Linked DNA regions of Homo sapiens: all the other regions are linked to region 6. Evidence: promoter capture Hi-C in 16 types of primary human blood cells and fetal thymus (Javierre and others, 2016). All regions are on one chromosome and are shown on one strand. The core of a region is centred on a gene start or on the middle of the fragment in contact, and the rest is flanking DNA. Distances in the headings are between cores, read along the strand shown.

What was found. Contacts are between HindIII fragments. The CHiCAGO score rates a contact against its expected background, and 5 or more counts as called.
Region 1: a fragment that was not itself captured here is called in contact with the fragment with the promoter of ERO1A in region 6 in 1 of 17 cell types (M2 macrophages); the score reaches 6.7 in M2 macrophages.
Region 2: a contact is called between a fragment that was not itself captured here and the fragment with the promoter of ERO1A in region 6, in 1 of 17 cell types (M2 macrophages). The highest score is 5.2, in M2 macrophages.
Region 3: a contact is called between a fragment that was not itself captured here and the fragment with the promoter of ERO1A in region 6, in 1 of 17 cell types (neutrophils). The highest score is 7.6, in neutrophils.
Region 4: a contact is called between a fragment that was not itself captured here and the fragment with the promoter of ERO1A in region 6, in 1 of 17 cell types (neutrophils). The highest score is 7.4, in neutrophils.
Region 5: a contact is called between a fragment that was not itself captured here and the fragment with the promoter of ERO1A in region 6, in 1 of 17 cell types (M2 macrophages). The highest score is 7.0, in M2 macrophages.
Region 7: a fragment that was not itself captured here is called in contact with the fragment with the promoter of ERO1A in region 6 in 1 of 17 cell types (neutrophils); the score reaches 7.3 in neutrophils.

What each region holds. Positions count from the first base shown.
Region 1 is chr14:54,501,696-54,504,395 of GRCh38, reverse strand. No RefSeq gene overlaps it. Among named protein-coding and RNA genes, the nearest start is that of CGRRF1, 6.9 kb to the left of the region's middle. The HindIII fragment of the contact is 1,422 bases long and covers 587-2,008 here.
Region 2 is chr14:54,427,328-54,430,027 of GRCh38, reverse strand. It overlaps CNIH1 (cornichon family member 1), which reads left to right. Exons shown (of 5, transcript NM_005776.3): 5 at 2,187-2,700. The coding sequence ends at 2,214. Among named protein-coding and RNA genes, the nearest start is that of CNIH1, 13 kb to the left of the region's middle. The HindIII fragment of the contact is 470 bases long and covers 1,045-1,514 here.
Region 3 is chr14:50,778,298-50,780,997 of GRCh38, reverse strand. It overlaps NIN (ninein), which reads left to right. Exons shown (of 31, transcript NM_020921.4): 6 at 2,194-2,233. Among named protein-coding and RNA genes, the nearest start is that of NIN, 52 kb to the left of the region's middle. The HindIII fragment of the contact is 4,250 bases long and covers 1-2,700 here.
Region 4 is chr14:50,921,911-50,924,610 of GRCh38, reverse strand. PYGL (glycogen phosphorylase L) reads left to right here. Exons shown (of 20, transcript NM_002863.5): 5 at 511-642. Among named protein-coding and RNA genes, the nearest start is that of PYGL, 21 kb to the left of the region's middle. The HindIII fragment of the contact is 2,619 bases long and covers 1-2,613 here.
Region 5 is chr14:54,485,362-54,488,061 of GRCh38, reverse strand. The region is part of intron 1 of GMFB (glia maturation factor beta); the gene reads left to right. Among named protein-coding and RNA genes, the nearest start is that of GMFB, 2.3 kb to the left of the region's middle. The HindIII fragment of the contact is 578 bases long and covers 1,002-1,579 here.
Region 6 is chr14:52,694,139-52,696,838 of GRCh38, reverse strand. ERO1A (endoplasmic reticulum oxidoreductase 1 alpha) reads left to right here and starts at 1,281. Exons shown (of 16, transcript NM_014584.3): 1 at 1,281-1,471. The coding sequence starts at 1,358. RefSeq lists a silencer at 810-1,349 and enhancers at 1,600-1,649, 1,255-1,756. The HindIII fragment of the contact is 13,242 bases long and covers 1-2,700 here.
Region 7 is chr14:50,939,311-50,942,010 of GRCh38, reverse strand. All of the region lies in intron 1 of PYGL (glycogen phosphorylase L), which reads left to right. It overlaps LOC124903314 (a long non-coding RNA gene), which reads left to right. Exons shown (of 2, transcript XR_007064163.1): 2 at 806-1,210. Among named protein-coding and RNA genes, the nearest start is that of PYGL, 3.8 kb to the left of the region's middle. The HindIII fragment of the contact is 842 bases long and covers 868-1,709 here.

The DNA of each region.
Region 1 (2,700 bases), core at 48-2,547, 1.8 Mb before region 6:
GAGGTGGAGTTTCACCATGTTGGCCAGGCTGGTCTCAAACTCCTGACCTCAGGTGATCCATTCGCCTTGGCCTCCCAAAGTGCTGGGATTAAAGGTGTGAGCCACCGAGCCTGGCCAAGAAATGCAAAAATATTAACATGTTTTTGAAAGTTATAATCTCCCTTATGTTATTTGCCTTGGAGCTGCCAACCCTTTCATTCATATTGTCTTTCTATAGTCCACATTCTTTCCTGGAAGGTCAGAAGGTCAGATCTCAATTTGGAAATATAAATAGGTAGGAATATAAATAATAAGGGTCCTAAATTTGAGTTTCAAACATGAGAAACTGGCAAATGGAACTGAATGTGCAATTTTGATATGACATCATAGATAACAGGAATTGTGAAAAATCTTATAGTAGTTTGGCAGAACCTAACAGCTTAACTCTTTATAGCCCATTGAACTTCCAAGTTCCTGAAACTCTCATGGTTTCAGATGCTGGGCTTCTGTTGTCTGTACATACTAAGTGGTAGGAGGCTACCTGAAGCCTGCTCCAACTGAGCTGACACTGATGATTAATGTGGTATTTAGTCTGTGGCCCAAAGCTTAGGACATTCATCTAGAACAGTGATTCTCAACTCGGAGTGTTCCTCCCTACCACTTCAACATTTGGCAATGTCTGGAGACATTTTTGTTTGTCACAACTAGGAAGTTGCTACTGGCCTCTAGTGGGTAGAGGCCAGGAATGCTGCTAAACATCCTACAATGCACAGTGCAGCCTACTCACAACAAAAAATGTATCCAATTATCCAATGTCAATATTGCTGAGGTTGAGAAACCCTGGTACAGAAAATTCTATTGGCCCTGGGCACTTCGCACCAAATCACTGTTTCCACCTTGGTCCAGGCCATGTCTTTTCCGGGGTTACCACAGTAGCCTCCTGAATAGTGTCCTTCTTCTGTCTCTGCTCTCCACAGTCTAGTCTTTTTCTTTTTAAAAAATACTTATTTAAGGCCGGGCATAGTGGCTCATGCCTGTAATCACAGCCCTTTGGGAGGCCGAGGTGGGCAGATCACGAGGTCAGGAGTTCGAGACCAGCCAGGACAATATGGTGAAACCCCGTCTCTACTAAAAATACAAAAATTATCCGGGAATGGTGGTGTGTGCCTGTGATCCCAGCTACTCAGCAGGCTGAGGCAGGAGAATCATTTGAACCCGGGAGGTAGAGGTTGCAGTGAACTGAGATCGCATCACTGCACTCCAGCCTGGGTGACAGAGCAAGACTCCGTCTAAAAAAAAAAAAAAAAAAGAAAAAAAGAAAGAAAAAAACTTATTTAAAATTTAATTTAATTTTTTATTTATATACAGTAATGTTCACCATGTTTAGTGTACAGATCTATGAGTTTTCACAGATGTATAGAGGTCATGTAACTGTAATCACAATCAAGATACAGAAGGGCAGCTCAGTTTTCAAAGTCTCTACTTTGCTTTCTGAGTCAGCTTCTTTGATTCAGCCTGCTTAGGTCAGAGTCAGACAGTAAAGGAGAAAAAAAAGAACTAGAAAATTTGGGTGTCATTCTAGTCATTCTACAAGTTTTGACTTCCTGTGGTGCAAGCCCTGAAGTTAGGATCTAATATTATGTGCTGTCTTGACATCTGGTGAAATTGGGAAAGGCTTAACCTCAAGTTCCTTTCTCCACTCCGCTCCCATGGATAAAGTCCCCTAGCCAAACAGCCCTCCTTATCAGGAGTACCAGGCACGGTGTCTGCTTATCCCTGAGTAGTGGGTTTCAGTTCCCTGCCAGCCCACAGGATTATTTAAACAAGCCCATCACTTCCTACTGCAGGAACCAAAGAGCTGTAGAGGAGGGAAAAATAGCTTCCCTTTACCCTTCTAGGTTCTTTGGCTGGCCTCAAATTAAATTGACATGCAACAGATTAACAAGAGAAAAGCCATAATTAATAATGGATGTACGCATGAGAATCCCACAAAATATGAGACTCGAAGAAGAGTCAGATGATTGAAGCTTATATAGCATCCTGAGCTACAGAAAGGAACAGTGACTCGGGGCTTCTGAGGGGTGATAATGATATAAGTTATGGAAAAGCGAGGAGAGGAAATTTTGCTGAATAAATGTTGTCTTGTTATACAGATAAAAAGTCCCTTGGGTAAAAAAAGTTGTCTTAAAGCAGCCTTCAAAAACATAGGTGATAGTCTGTCTGGGCATGGGTCAACCTCTAGTCTCCTCCACTGCAATCCAAGTTCATCTTCCCTGGTTGATATGGTTAATAAGATTCCCAGAAAGGGGATTCTTGACAATCGAATTCCTTTTGGAGGATTCATCTTCAGGCAGATTGGAGGATGCTTCGAGAAAGCCTCTGCCTGCAACTCTTGTTCCCCACGTGTCCTCAGTTCAAAGTAATCTGCATACCAAAGCATCATATTTGGGGGTGGCATTCCCTGAACTCCTTTGGAGTATCCCACCCTCTTGAGTATCCCACTCACTACAAAGCCTGGTTCCACAGCTCCTGATTGTTCATTCCGTTCCCAAGTGCAGCACCCTTGGGCCATGCTGTGTCCTCTTCCCCTTTGCTGGAAGTATATAAGACCAATAAACTGCTGTTGATCTCACCTGTCCAGTGTCAGGTGGGGTGTGTTCAGCCATCCCCATAACCCTAGGGTGGACAAAGTCCTTGTGATCACTTAAGGAGGCTCTACGT
Region 2 (2,700 bases), core at 30-2,529, 1.7 Mb before region 6:
AAGTTTTCAGACACATTCAGTCAGTAAAGGATGGTCCTCATTCTCCATGGCAAAGTGATGTCATTGAAGGATAGGGATGTGTGAGTTTGCAGAAATTTCTGCTTGTCTTCAGGGTCTCTCCAGACATTATGTTTCATTTTTTCCTTATCATTCTTCATAAGTGGTGTGCTCTGCCCTTTATTTTCTGATTTGCTTGATTTGAGTGGTATGAATGAAAGAAGTAGTTCTACCTTACAGGGTGGTGCAGTTTCCGATTTTTGTTCTTTTTTTTTGAGTCGGAGTCTCTGTTGCCCAGGCTAGAGTGCAGTGGCGCGATCTCTGCTCACTGCAACCTCCGCCCCACCAAGTTCAAGCAATTCTCCTGCCTCAGCCTCCTGAGTAGCTGGGATTACAGGCGTGCACCACCACGCCCGGCTAATTTTTGTATTTTTAGTAGAGACAGAGTTTCACCATGTTGGCCAGGTTGGTCTTGAACTCCCGACCTCAGGTGATCCGCCCACCTTGGCCTCCCAAAGTACTGGGATTACAGGCGTGAGCCATCGCGCCCAGCCTGATTTTTTTCCTTTTATACTCTCATGGACTCATTGTTCCTCTAGGTCAGGGTGTCTCAGCTTCGGCACTGTTGACGCTTCTGGGCTGTGTGGGAATTTCTGTGGGAAGCTGTCCTGTATATCATGGGACGTTCAGCAGCATCCCTGGCCTTTACCCACTAGTTGCCATGAGCACCCTCCTGCCCCCTCATGACAACCAAAAATGTCTCTGGACATTGCCAGATGTCCTGAGGGGCAAAATTGCCCTGGGTGAGAACCACTGCTGTAGGTGTGTTGTAGGTGCAGTGAAATGACTGCTTATTAAAACTAGAAAAGGACACTGTTAAATGTAGAATTATATATTTCTTTAAGCTATGTGAATATACTTTTACACATCACTTATATAAAATACTTTCTCATTTTTTATTAATACATACTCAACTAGAGAGGACTTTCTCCTTGATTTTCAGAATATTTCCAAAAAAGCTGTAAGCTTTAAAAAACAGCATAAGCTTCCCTTCTCTTTTTCATTACTTGAAAACTTGCTAAGATAGGCTTATATTCATATTCATATTTCTCTTCATACATAAGTTTCCATCATAGAAAAGATGAATGGTTAGACTGAAATTTAGGAAAAAGGTATTTTTGGTATTTTTATGCCTTTAGAGGCTATTACTGTGAAAATGAGTATCCTTTAGTGCATATGCAGATATTACTCATCTATGAAACAAAGAAGTGCTCTGAAAAGTGAAATTCTATGTGTCACTTTAATTTCCTGTTAATTTTCATTTCATAAGTTTCCATAGCAAATGTCTGGAACGGGCTGGTGTATGATAGGCACTTCATACGTATTTGTTGAATGAAAGAAATGAAATGAATGATTGAATAAATGATAAAGTTGGAGATGTGCAGTTGTGGGAAAATGTTCAGCAGGATATGGTAGCACCAGGACATTTGTTGTGTTTTAAGGTTGTCTATCAAGCTTGTTCAACTCCTTTGTATTTCTGTTTAGAGTTATGTGCTTTTTGAATCATGCCCCTATGCCGTTCCCATAGCACTCTGTAGAATTGCCCTTGGCAGTTCTTAAACCTAAATCAAAAGGTCATTGCCTTTTATTTTGCTGTTTTCCCCCCTTTTCTTTTTTAACCACTTCCTAAAAGTTGCTATTGCTTAGATCCTTTCTGTAATGGGAAAGATCCTTGATTGATCATTCCTTTCTATACAATGGGGATACACATGGTACCTGCCTTCTAGGACTCCTTGAAGGATTAAGCAAGGTAATGTATATAAGAGACCTAACAGGGCCTGGCGTGAAGTGAGCCCTCCAGAGATACTCATTCTATTATTAGACACAACTCCAGAGTGTGTGATGTTTGGATGGCTTCTCTAAGCTCTGATCCGCCATTAAGCTTTCAGCTGTGCCGTTCTACTTGCTAAAATTGGAAGGGAATAGGGGACAACTACAGCATATGCACTGAGCCAAGTCATATGTTAGGCAAAAGTCCATAAATGCAAATTAAAATCACTGTGAACTTGTCATTAGTCTTGTCATTTTCTGTGATACTAGTTTGCTATATAAAGCATACTCTCTCATGCTCTGAGTTTTTTTTTAATAATTAGTAATGTTCAAATTAACATCTTTTTTCTTCTTTTCAGCATGATCTATGTTTTGGTGAGCTCTTAGAACAACACACAGAAGAATTGGTCCAGTTAAGTGCATGCAAAAAGCCACCAAATGAAGGGATTCTATCCAGCAAGATCCTGTCCAAGAGTAGCCTGTGGAATCTGATCAGTTACTTTAAAAAATGACTCCTTATTTTTTAAATGTTTCCACATTTTTGCTTGTGGAAAGACTGTTTTCATATGTTATACTCAGATAAAGATTTTAAATGGTATTACGTATAAATTAATATAAAATGATTACCTCTGGTGTTGACAGGTTTGAACTTGCACTTCTTAAGGAACAGCCATAATCCTCTGAATGATGCATTAATTACTGACTGTCCTAGTACATTGGAAGCTTTTGTTTATAGGAACTTGTAGGGCTCATTTTGGTTTCATTGAAACAGTATCTAATTATAAATTAGCTGTAGATATCAGGTGCTTCTGATGAAGTGAAAATGTATATCTGACTAGTGGGAAACTTCATGGGTTTCCTCATCTGTCATGT
Region 3 (2,700 bases), core at 187-2,686, 1.9 Mb after region 6:
GAAATGAGAATGTAAGAAAATTTATGAAGGACTGTTGACTTTACCACTTGCTCCCCATCCCCACCATGCCTCAGACATCCACTAGATTGGAGAGACGTCTTTATGTAGAAATGTAGGCTGAGTGAGCTGATGAAATTGTTATCACAAGCAAAAATCACACGTCCTAATTCACTTTTCATTGATGCCATGTTTATTAGTGACTTTCCATTGTAATCTGCATGAATTGTAGTGAACTTAAACATTTTGAGTTATGGCCTTTTGGTGTCTTCCATTTGTCAGCAACAACCCATCTCAGCATTGTCAGCTTGGTATGGCCAAATTAAATGAACTCTCTGAATTGATACTATCTTAAATATCTAACATGGACCTGTGAAACTGTGGTAGGTGGTTGGCCCTCATTTAAGAGGTGAGAACTACCACTAGTGAGTGTGGAGAATAAAGTAGATGAGCGTAGGTTGCCTGAAAGAAGAACTTCAACTCGTATTAACTTGAATGAACTACTGAAAAACAACATTTCATCTAAAAATTTTACGTGCCATACCATCTGTCATGAGGAATCCAAGTTCTAGAGACAGGTATTAATTAGGCTGACTTTCCTGTCGAGTTTATTTTCGGATTCTAAGCAATCAACTAGTCTTGTACAGGTCAGCTACCCAGAAAACGTGCTGGTTATTTGTTATCAAAGGCAGCTTCATTCATAAAGCTGGATCACTGCTATGACAGCAGCCCCGTTTGGAAAGGGCGATTCACCTTTTCTAACAGGGTTTTCTTTGATGGTTGTAGTAACCCCCCATAACAGTGATTAGTTTTAGGCAGTTTGCTGGAGAGGCTAAAGCCATTTGCTGGAAGCCACAGCCACTGTGGACCTACTTGTTGCAACTGGTCAAAAGACGACCTGTACTATCCCCGGGCAGTGGAGCAAGGGCTGGATTTCGGTCCTGACCTGTGCTCTTAGCGGGGCACTTTTATGCAGTACACAAATTACAACTGTATGCTGTGACTTTGGAGAAGAGGCAGGAGTAATGAAGCCTGATAAGGTGGCAAAATGGTCCAATTCAGATAAATTGAACTGCCTTTAATGTAATTTACTGGTAATGTACATTTTATACTTTCTCTAGCCTACTTATTTTAAGTTGCATCTCTCTCCTCACTATGCCACAGATACACTAGGCTCATTCTTGCCTCCTTGCTTCAGCAGATAACAACTGCCCCCCTTCTTTTCTTTTCTTTTTTTTTTTTTGAGACGGAGTCTCGCTCTGTTGCCCAGGCTGGAGTGCAGTGGCGCGATCTCGGCTTACTGCAAGCTCCGCCTCCCGGGTTCACGCCATTCTCCTGCCTCAGCCTCCCGAGTAGCTGGGACTACAGGCACCCGCCACCTCGCCTGGCTAATTTTTTGTATTTTTGGTAGAGATGGGGTTTCATTGTGTTGGCCAGGATGGTCTCGATCTCCTGACCTCGTGATCCGCCCACCTCGGCCTCCCAAAGTGCTGGGATTACAGGCGCAAGCCACTGTGCCCAGCCTGCCCCCTTCTTTTCATTTGGCTCTCTGCAGTTTATCCTTCAGGTCTCAGTTTAGACATTGCTTCTTCCCGATCTAACAAGTCTAAAGTATCCCATCTGCATAGCAACATAGCATCCTGAACTTCCTTGTCATAGCACTTAAAATACTACCCTGTTGTATTTCCTGTTTTCTTGTCTGCATGTCTTCATTAGCATATAAACTTCTTGGGGCAGGAAATATGTTTGTCCTGTTCATGGTTGTTCATGGTTGTATTACCAAGACCTAGCACAGTACCTAGCACAAAGAGAAGCACTCAGTACACATTTATTGAAGAATAAATTCATAAATGCATGTGTACAGATACTTGTTGGTTGATGGATACTGGATATTTGCTTTGGCTGGGTTTAATTGGTTGTGATAGGTTTTGCTGTTGAATAAGTGACCTAGCAAATGAGGACAAATCCTTGGTGAAATGCTGCAGAAGGCTGTGTGGTGTTTCTTAGGAGTCTCGTCCTGATTGGCTGGTTAACTGAAGAGAACTCATCTAGATGGATACACTAGAGAGTCCTGAAATTATGTGACTCACTTAGATGATGATTTCAGAGCCAGAGAGTGATCTGCTCTAGGAAAAGCTAGGATAGTTCTTTCTGAATAAGTTCTAAAGCACACTAATCTTCTCTTGCCTTCTCTAGCACTGGAAGACGCAACGCAGTGAGGAGTATGAAGCGGAAGGTAAGAGCCGAGTGTGTCAGGACGTGCCTGGAAGGGAAGGGCCGCCGGGTGCTCTCCACACCCGGTCTTTCTGATCTCTTATGCTGCAGGCCAGGGGAATTAACATTAAGAACAACAGCAACAAAAAATTTATTCCCAATTGATAGCTTTTAGTTTTAAAATCCTAGCATTTAGTATCATGCAAGAGATGGTAACTAAGATATATAATTTTACTTACGGGCTAATTTCTCTCTTATACAGACTTTCAGATTAATTTTCTAACAGTCTTAAATAGTGACCTATTAAAGTGCATCCCTTGGCCAGGTACAGTGGCTCACGCCTGTAATCCCAGCACTTTGGGAGGCCAAGGCAGGAGGATTACTGGAACGCAGTAGTTCATGACCAGCCTGGGCAACATGGCATACCCCGTCTCTACTAAAAATAGCCAGGTGTGGTAGCACATGCCTGTCGTCCCAGCTACTCAGAAG
Region 4 (2,700 bases), core at 55-2,554, 1.8 Mb after region 6:
AAAGAGTGTTCTGTAAGTAGCATTTTCTAACTGATTCTGTATATTCTAGCCACAAGAATCTTGACTGAACCCTTTGTGTAGGACTCAACAGGCCCAGGTATCCAACGATAAACATCCCTGTAAGGCGTCTGTCTTTAGCTGAAGCTGGACAATTGGATTCACAGACGTTAAGACAGAGGCTCTGGAACACAGAGACCTAAGGGCAGATCTTATCTCTATCGTTTACTGTTTGACCTTGAGATCTTATCTCTACCGTTTACTATTTGACCTTGAGCAGTTACAATTCCTCATCTTTAAAAGAGGATTAAATGCAGTAATACATATAAAATATTTAGAGCTGTATTAGCGAGTATTATTGTTGATGTAGGCTGTAAAAAAGTTACAAAACAGTACTCAGTATTCATAAGTTGTTTCAGTTAAAGATGTTTTAAATTTAATATAATATAATTGAAGTGCTAGGTTCATATTTCCTGACAAATAAATTCTAAGCAATACTGTATCCTTTTGCAGGTAGAAGAAGCAGATGATTGGCTCAGATATGGAAACCCTTGGGAGAAGTCCCGCCCAGAATTCATGCTGCCTGTGCACTTCTATGGAAAAGTAGAACACACCAACACCGGGACCAAGTGGATTGACACTCAAGTATTCAGAGTGCTCGTATAGCCAGCGTTTTGTATAGTATTTAGTACAGTAGATAATACATTGACTATGTAGCATATAGTGGTGATATTGAGTATAGGGCATGTCGTGTTTTGAATAATAGAATATATTTTTGTAAATAAATCTGTTACTTCTCTTAGCGCAGCCCAGTCATTTTGGAGACAAAGGAGCTGAGGCCAAGAGAGGAGTGACTTTTATAAGGGTCATTTTGCAACCAGCTTTGTCAGAAAATTGTCAGTTCTTTTTTTTTTTTTTTTTTTTTTGCCAGAAAATTGTCAGTTCTATAGTAACCAGCATGCTTACCTCTTTGGTTTTATATTAAGGTGTTGATAGCAAAATTGAATAATTTGAAATGTCATTCCTGGCTGGGTGCAGTGGCTCACAACTGTAATCCCAGCACTTTGGGAAGCCGAAGCGGGCAGATCACCTGAGGTCAGGAGTTCAAGACCAGCCTGGCCAACATGGTGAATCCCTATCTGTACTAAAAATACGAAAATTAGCCAGGAGTGGTGGCCCATGCCTATAGTCCCAGCTACATGGGAGGCTGAGGCAGGAGAATCGCTTGAACCTAGGAGGTGGAGGTTGCAGTGAGCTGAGATCATGTCGCTGCACTCCAGCCTGGGTAACAGAGTGAGACTCTGTCTCAAAAAAAATAAAATAAAATAAAATAAAAATAAAAGTTTGCAGTTTACACAATCAATCCTGGAAGCATTTTATTTACACTGTGGGTCCCACTGCTGAGCTAACTTGCATTTACAAAACACCTCTAGATACTGTCATAATGTATCCAGAAATTCAATTAGAGAGAGTGTGTGTTTCTGGGCCAACAGAGGCAAGGTTAGGGGGCAGAGGTAATATAAGTGAGCTGGCCCAAGCCATGCAACTTAGCCTCATAGATTGAAGTCATCACATGAATTAACCCCAAACTGGTACCCAGTGATGTCAGAGCATGAGTCCAGATGTGCTCTGTGCGTGCATGGGATGGCTTCCAATAAAGTCAAATGACACAGTCACGTGTCAGTTTAGGTCCTCTAGGAAACAGACACCAGAGAGAATGAGAAGTGCAAGTGACATATTGGGGGATGCCTATGAAAGACAAAGGGGAGAGGGAGCAGGATGAGGTGGGAAGGCTTCAGACTGTGACACAGGTGTGCCACCTGTGAAAAGTGAAGGGGAAAGAAGCAGCATTCTCAGGGAGAGCCTCAGACCACAGTGCCACTCTGAGCAAGTGGCCAGGCTGATGGAGCCTGACACTAAAGATTGCCCATTAGAGAAGTCTCGGCCCTAGTGTCCCAGCCACATGGAGTGTCCCAGAGAGCGCAGCTTTGGTGTGAGCTCTGAGGGAGCAAGTCCTCTTTGAGGTTCTCTGAAAGAAGATCTAAGCTGTGCACTTCTTGGGCTGCCTTAATTATGCTTCAAGGGTCAGAAGGGTCCAACTCTTGTTTGAACCGAGACTCAATCCCAGCCTGCAAATGACTTTCCCTGATTGATTACAACTTGCTTTAAAAGTCCAGAGACTTTTATCTCTTAATGAAAGATATTTAAATGAGGGTGATTTATTACTTTGAGGTCGCGGTGATCACGAAAGTATGACTGAGTATATGTGATTGATATGGGCCATAATGCTTCATTCATTCACAATTCAGCAGACCAAATTAAAGAGATGCGTGTTTAAGTTTCAATCCTGCCATGACTGTGATCTTGGGCAAGTCACTTCTCTCTCAGCTTCAGCTCCCTCATGTCCAAAATAAGTGGGTTGCACTAAATGAGATCCAGCATCCTCCAGTTCAATTATTCTGTCATTCTCCTTCCTTCGAGCTTGACTCTGATGAGGCCGGGAATAAAAATGAATGATTTCTCACTTGAATTTTCGATGCACTGTGAAACATAGTTAATCTTCCTCTTCTCTATTTCAGTGACTGTCACAAAGATCAAGCTAGATTTTCCAAAGCTTACCTCTTAGACTCAACTCAGCTAATTATCAGCTGATTTGGCAGATCACTGTAGGAATCACTAAAATAACTCCTTATGCAACTTTAA
Region 5 (2,700 bases), core at 41-2,540, 1.8 Mb before region 6:
TTTTCAGTTTTCGTCTTCTCTGACCTTTTAGCTGCATTCCAGAGTGTTATACTCTCTTGTTTTTGAAGCATTCTCTTCCTTCATTCTTCCCCTTTGGCTTCTGGGATACAGAGCTCCTCCTACTTCTCCTATTGGTCCATCTGTTTCCCTTTCAGACTATTCTCCTTTCCCTGGACAATGCTCGAAGGAGTCCCAGGTTTCATCCTAATCCTTCATTTTCCATTCTGTATTCTTCATCCTAAACTATGGCTTCAGTTACCATCTATATTCAGATGACTTGTGAATTTACAGCTCAGAAGACCTTGCTTCTGAGATCCAATCCAGATCTGTATGTACTTTTTTTTCTTTGAGTCGGAGTTTCACTCTTGTGGCCCAGGCTGGAGTGCAATGGCGGGATCTCGGCCCATTGCAACCTCCGCCTCCCAGGTTCAAGCAGTTCTCCTGCCTCAGCCTCCCAAGTAGCTGGGATTACAGGCATGTGCCACCACGCCCGGCTAATTTTGTTTTTTTGTTTGTTTGTTTTGAGATGGAGTCTCGCTCTGTCGCGTTGGTTGGAGTGCAGTGGCGCGATCTCCGCTCACTGCAAGCTCCGCCTCCCTGGTTCACGCCGTTCGTTCTCCCGCCTCAGCCTCCCGAGTAGCTGGGACTACAGGCTCCCGCCACCACACCCGGCTAATTTTGTTTTTGTATTTTTAGTACAGACGGGGTTTCACCGTGTTAGCCAGGATGGTCTCGATCTCCTGACCTCGTGATCCACCTGCCTCGGCCTCCCAAAGTGCTGGGATTACAGGCGTGAGCCACCGCGCCCGGCCCTAATTTTGTATTTTTAGTAGAGACGGGGTTTCACCATGTTAGCCAGGATGGTCTCGATCTCCTGACCTCAAGTGATCCACCTGCCCCGGCCTCCCAAAGTGTTGAGATTACAGACGTGAGCTACCGCGCCTGACCCCAGATCTATATATTAATATTTCAATATTTAGTTACCATTCCCCTGGGAAGCTTTTCCTCCACTTGGTCTCCTCAAAGCCACCTCAGTTTGTCCAAAGTAGAACTCATGCCCTTTCTCCTCAAACCTAGTCTTCTGTCTGTTATACAAGACAATCTGTTATACCAGCCAGAAGCCTAGTATATCTGGTAACCCTTTTTTTTGCTTACTCACACCCCACCCCCACCCCCAATATCCAATCTGTCACCACCTCCTTTGTAGTGGTTAAGAGAGTGAGTTAAGATAGGCTGCCTGGGTTGAATCCTGGCTCCACTAGCTATGTAATTGGGGAAAGATACTTAACCTCTCTAAACCTTAGTTTCTTGCAAAATGGGAGTAATAATAGTATCTGTTTCGTGAGATTGTTTTGAACATAAAAGGAAATCTATGTAAAGGATATAACAGTGTTTCTCTCATAGGGTCTGATACATGTTAACTATTATTAGGACTAAATGGGAATTTTTTGCTATTGAGTTGTTTGAGATCCTTGTATATTCTGATTATTAATCCTTTGTTGAGTGGAGAATTTGCAGATATTTTCTCCCATTCTGTAGGTTGTCTCTTCACTCGTTGTTTTCTTTCCTCTCAGAAGCTTTTTAGCTTGATATGATCTCATTTGTCTATTTTGCTTTAGTTGTCTGTGCTTTTGAGGTCTTACTCAAAAAAATCTTTGCCCAGACCAATGTCCTGAAGCAATTGCCCAGTGTTTTCTTCTAGTGGTTGTATAGTTTCAGATCTTACATTTAAGTCTTTAATCCATTTTGATTTGATTTTTGTATATGCTGAGAGTTGGGGTCTGTTTGTTTTTGTTTTTTTGTTTTTGTTTTTGAGATGGAGTCTCGCTCTGTCGCCAGGCTAGAGTGCAGTGGTGCAATCTCGGCTCACTGCAACCTCAGCCTCCCGGGTTCAAGCGATTCTCCTGCCTCAGCCTCCCGAGTAGCTGGGATTACAGACGCTTGCCACCACGCCCAGCTAATTTTTGTATTTTTAGTAGAGACGGGGTTTCACCATGTTAGCCAGGCTGGTCTCGAACTCCTGACCTCATGATCCGCCCGCCTCGGCCTCCCAAAGTGCTGGGATTACAGGCGTGAGCCACTGTGCCCGGCCCGGGGTCTGGTTTTATTCTGCATATAGCTATCTGGTTTTCCCAGCACCATTTATTGGAGAGAGTGTCCTTTCCCCAGTGTATGTTTTTGGCATCATTGTCCAAAATGAGTTGGCTATAAATGTGTAGATTTACTTCTGGGTTCTCTATTCTGTTTCATTGGCCTGTGTGTGTGGTTTTATGCCAGGATCATGCTGTTTTGGTAACTATTGTTTTGTAGTATATTTTGAAGTACTGCTTTGTTCTTTTTGCTGAGGGTTGCTTTGGCTATTCACAGTCTTTTGTGGCTCCTTACAAATTTTAGGATCTTTTCTCTCTTGCTTTTAAGAATGTCATTGGTATTTTGATGGGGATTGCATTGAATCTGTAGATCACTTTGGGTTAGTATGGACATTTTAACAATATTATGTCTTGTAATCCATGAGCTTGGAATCTTTCCATTTTTGTATGTTCTCTTCAATTTCTTTCATCTGTGTTTTATAATTTTCATTGTAGAGATCTGTCACTTCTTTGGTTAAATTTATTCCTAAATTTTTTATAGCTATTGTAAGTGAGATTGCTTTCTTGATTTCTTTTTCAGATTGTTTCCTGTTGTTGTATATAAATGCTA
Region 6 (2,700 bases), core at 32-2,531:
GCAGAGATTGCAGTAAGCCAAGATGACGCCACTGCACTCCAGCCTGGGCGACAGAGCGAGACTCCGCCTCGAAAAAAAAAAAAAAAGTAATCCCAGCACTTTGGGAGGCTGAGGCGGGAGAATCGCTCTTGAGGAGTTTGAGACCAGCCTGGGCAACATGGTGAAACCTCGTTTCTACTAAAAATAAAATTAGCCAGGCGTGGTGGCGCACGCCTGTAGTTCATGCTACTCAGGAGGCTTAGGTGGGAGGATCGCTTGAGCCCAGGAGTTCGAGGTTGCAGTGAGCTGCGATCGCATCATTGCAGGCCAGCCTGGGTGACCCAGGGAGACCCTGTCTGGAAAAAAAAAAAGCGGATAGACTAGTCCCAACTCTGAATGTTAAAAGACCAGGACTGGGTATCAGAGGACCTCCAATCCTTGCTCACCTTACCTCACTTCTCTAGGCCTGTTTCTTCCTATGATATGAGCGGGTGGCTTCCACCCTCGCTGTCTAATACAGTGGGCACTAGCCAGCCACATTTGACTATGAAATGGGTCTAGTTCGCATCGAATACACACTGGATTTCAAAGACAAAAAAAGTCAAATATCTTATGAATAAATTTAATGTTGGTTATATTTTGAAATAATATTTTGCACATTCGGGGTTAAATAAAAATATTTTAAAAATAAAATGTACCTGTTATTTTTACTCTTTTGCTGTGGCTACTAAAAATATAAATGACATATGCTGCCCTGGTCTAGATGCTCTCTAATATCCCTTTCAGCTTTAAGACTCCGCCGGGAACACGGTGGACACGTAATTCGTACGATTTGATTGTCTCGCATTGAGATACGGAAGGATTGGCCGGGAGTGAGCGGGCTGGGGCTGGGCGGGGCGGCGCGGGGCGGGCACCCCCCGCCCCCCAACCCCGCAGGAAAACACAGGCCCCTCCGGCTTTCGCTCTCGCTCTGGGAACTGGAAGGACCCCCGACTCCCGCGCAGGGTCTGGGGTTGTGCGCGTCGGGTTGCGTCTCCAGGCCGGGGGCGTCAGGGAGCCGGGGGCGGGGACGGGCGCGGGCGCAGCGGACCGGGCGGGGCCGAGCCGGGAAGCTGGTCGGTGCGTCAGCCTCACGCGGCGGGAAGGAACCGGTCCGAGGCCCCGGGCTGCCGGCGCGGGCGCCGCGGCACGTCCACAGGCTGGGTCGCGAGGTGGCGATCGCTGAGAGGCAGGAGGGCCGAGGCGGGCCTGGGAGGCGGCCCGGAGGTGGGGCGCCGCTGGGGCCGGCCCGCACGGGCTTCATCTGAGGGCGCACGGCCCGCGACCGAGCGTGCGGACTGGCCTCCCAAGCGTGGGGCGACAAGCTGCCGGAGCTGCAATGGGCCGCGGCTGGGGATTCTTGTTTGGCCTCCTGGGCGCCGTGTGGCTGCTCAGCTCGGGCCACGGAGAGGAGCAGCCCCCGGAGACAGCGGCACAGAGGTGCTTCTGCCAGGTGAGCGATGTGCGCGTTGGTGCTGAGGGTCCCGGCGCCCTCCGCGGCGTGCACTGTCCCGCACGCCCTGGCGGGTGAGCGGCTGGGGGTGCGTCCTTGCATCTCTTCCCACCGGGAATGAGACTCCGGTGCTGCTGCCCGGTGGCCGGGACTGAGTCTGGCTTGGCGTGGACCGGGCCTCCACGGCAGCCTGGACGTCGCCGCGCCCTCCGGTGCCTCGGACCAGGAGAGGGGTTGGGTGCACGCGGTTGAGTGGGTTTATGCATCTTTGTTGGTCTTATCTGCCCGGGGAGAGTGTGCACAGTGTATAATGCCCTGCCAGTATTTGCTATTTTCACAGAACCTGGATCTTTCTCACTTCTCTCTTGACCAGGAACTTGTGTACCCAGTACCTGTGCTGCGTGCATTTCGCCAGCCTTTCTGGCTAAGACGTTTGTGGGCTGATCTCAGATTTCGATGTTAGGCGGAAGAATGGCTGCTTGCGGTTTTTCTGTGTGTAAGCCCAACTACCTGATGTCTTTGGGACTGCAGTTGCCCTCTGGTTTCTGGTCCTGTGTGCTCTTTTTCTCGAATGTAATGAGATTCTCTTATCGTGACACCCGTTAAGCTGGTACGAATTGGGAGGAAGGTCCTTATTCTTCAGTGCACAAGTTTAATTACAAGCGGATTATGATCATTTCCTTCTGTAAGAGATGTGGTTTCTTGAGCAAAAAATTGAGAGAAACTTACAGTTTTCCATTATCTTCAGTATCTAGTATTTCAATGTGATTACTCTTGTCAAAGCCACTTTTTGGTTGACTCTGTTGATAAAAATTACGTTTTATACAAAATTAAGGGTTAGGCATCCATGTTATTCCTAAGTGGATTTTGCTATTAATTTATTATCAGAAATACCATTTTATGTGTTTAGGGGCATGATACCATGTCAAAGGAAAGATGCATTTAAATATTATGAAAGGTTTCTCTTTCACTACTTTACATTCTTGGATTTTGTTGTTTTGCTGAGTGATTTGGGAGTTGAGGTGAGTGTTATCTAGGAAACTAAGGGAAGTTGAAAGAAAATTGCTACTTTACAACTGAGACATTGAAAAGTCCTTTACCTTCAATCATTACAAAGGACACACAATCAAGTACTTAAAAGGAAAAGGGTCATTTTTCTTCTGATTAGAAATATAACGCAACACCGAGATTAAACATTTAAAAAATAAGATAGAAATAAGTGACTTTAA
Region 7 (2,700 bases), core at 39-2,538, 1.8 Mb after region 6:
TCTATGCGTACATTTCTGAGTGTTTAGTGAACATATCTAGATATCTTCCTATTTCCTCAAACTCAGTACGTTAAAAACTCAAACCATTATTTCTCCCAATCCTGCCCCATCTTCCCGTGTTTTGTTTTGTTTTGTGACAGAGTCTCACTCTGTCACCCATGTTGGAGTGCAATGATGCAATCTCGGCTCACTGCAACCTCTGCCTCTCGGGTTCAAGTGATTCTCCTGCCTTAGCCTCCTGAGTAGCTGGGATTACAGGTGCATGCCACCATGCCCAGCTACTTTTTGTATTTTTAGTAGCGACAGGATTCCACCATTTGGACAGGCTGGTCTCGAACTCCTGACCTGGTGATCCACCCACCTCGGCCTCCCAAAGTGCTGGGATTACAGGCATGAGCCACCACGACTGGCCTCTGTGTTTTTTGTTTTCATGCCATTGTCATCTTGACAATCCAGACGCAAACTTTAGTCTCACTTTTTGCCGTTCAACTGTTTGCCAATTTCTGTTGATTTCTATAGGTTCCCTTGAATGACGTGCTCTCCTCCATTATCTCTTCCTGCCTTGGTGAGGCTCTAGCTACCCATTTGTTGCAGCTGACTTCACGTGGTTATTTTGCTTTCCAGAAGTGGTAAAACCGGCAGCCTGAGGCTGAATAAGGATAGCAGACATACTTTGTTGGCCAAGACATTTTTCAGGAATTTAATTTTTAGCGCCTGTGGTCAGGACTTGCACACTCCATTTCTTAGCCCAGTACTCTTCTTTGTTTTATGTGACCTCAATTACACATTTATTTTCTCTGCCTAGCTCCTGAAGGCATTTGAGTATATGATCCCGTCTCATTCTGTGCATTGTGGTCTGCTCAAGCTTCCTAAAGCAACGCATCTTGCCCCTGCTCAATTATCATTGGCTCCTCTTGCCTGCCATAGAACTTAAGCAAGTATTCGAAAGCACTTCTCAGTCCAGGTGGGCCTGTTCTTCCCTTGTTATCTTCCATTACCCTCTGTACCCACCTTGCTCTCCCAACAAACCAATCCCCACTCTGGGCCCCCGATTCACTTGCAGTGTCCTTCCTACCACATTTCTATGCTCAACTCTTGCCTGTCCTGCAAGTCTCAGGTTTATTGACAGGTGTTCCAGAGGTCTTCCCGGAAGTACCCAGGCCCTCTGACTAATGCTGGGGATAAAAATAAAACATACAATTTAAAAATATTTGTTATATCTTCTTTATTTTATTTTACAAGCCTTTTGAAAATATCCACTTTTTACATAAAATACTAGTAATCATAGTACATGCATGTAATTTATAAAGTATATTGGAGATGCTCATATATTTTACTATCAGTCATATGTAACAAATATTTAGAGACCAGTAAGTAAGAGTATGGCCAAGATCTATTTTTTGAAGTCTTATATATTCCCAAATATAAGGAGAGATTACCTCTAAGAAGTTATTTGTGAGAAAACAGGGAATCACCTTACGTTCCTGTCCTTATAAAGTCTGTCATGCAAGGAAGTATTTTCTCATTTACTTTATTCTGAGCAACCACATATCTCTCAAGAGAGACTTTGAAATATTTTTAAGAAGACTTAAGTTCGTGCTAATGTGGAATCATTAAAAAGGAGGCAAATTTAATACAGATGTAGTCATTATTCCTGGGGGTATAACCTCACAATTGCAAGTGTGGAATATATACTATATAAACAAGCTTTTTGTAGATTACTTAAAAGAAAAAGGCAAAACATCATGGTTATAGAGATAATGAAAATACACACATGGAAGGATTTTTTTAAACTGGGTAATACTATGCAAATGGGTATTTGTGGCTTAAGATACTATTACCTGTGACAGCGGTCATCACGTACTAGAGCACCAGCCATTGCCTATGTCTGCCCCAGAGAAGGTACTTTTATCCAATCATTCGAAGGTATCTAATAGCTGGTGAGGGTTCTAGTAACAGCATTATAGACATTCAAACAACTTGGATGAAAACGAAGATGATGTGTTCTGGAAAGCAGTGTTAGGTGGCCCGTTAGGTCATGGATGTTGACCATTTGTTGTGAAATTTAGAACTCAATTGTTCATAAAAGGAAAATGGGAAAGAATGAAATTTCCAAGTTGACGTTTTCAAATAATATTTTGTTTTAAATATTTATGTGTAACTAGTATGTTAAATATGATAATACGCCTTTATTATACTGAATTCTACTCACAATTTTTTTTGATTGGCCAAATTATTATTTTTTCTTTTTTTACTTCTTATCTTATGGAAATGGGGCAATCCCTAAAATTTGAGGTAACTATATTGGTGCATTTACAGATTTTTGCCATTTTGTTTTGTGTCTAGTAGAGAAGAGAGGATAGATGATTGGAGAATAAGATATTGTAAAAGGGGGCAATGAAGTTACTCACTGGTGCTTTTTTTTTTTAATTAGTAAACTGTGCTGTATATAAAGAAGGTTTTCAGCAGGTCTGAACTTTGTACCTCTCACCTTCAACTCTGATGATATTTGCCTGACTTTTACCATGTCAAAGGCAAATAATGTCTAAGTCAATAGAGAAATTTCCAATTTCAATAAGAACAAACACCAATAAACCTTAGGTAGTCTTCTTGTTCATAAGGAACTTGCCAGTAAATAGACTTTATAGAAAAATTTGATTCTAAAATTAATTGTAGGCCGGGCGCTTGGCTCACGCCTGT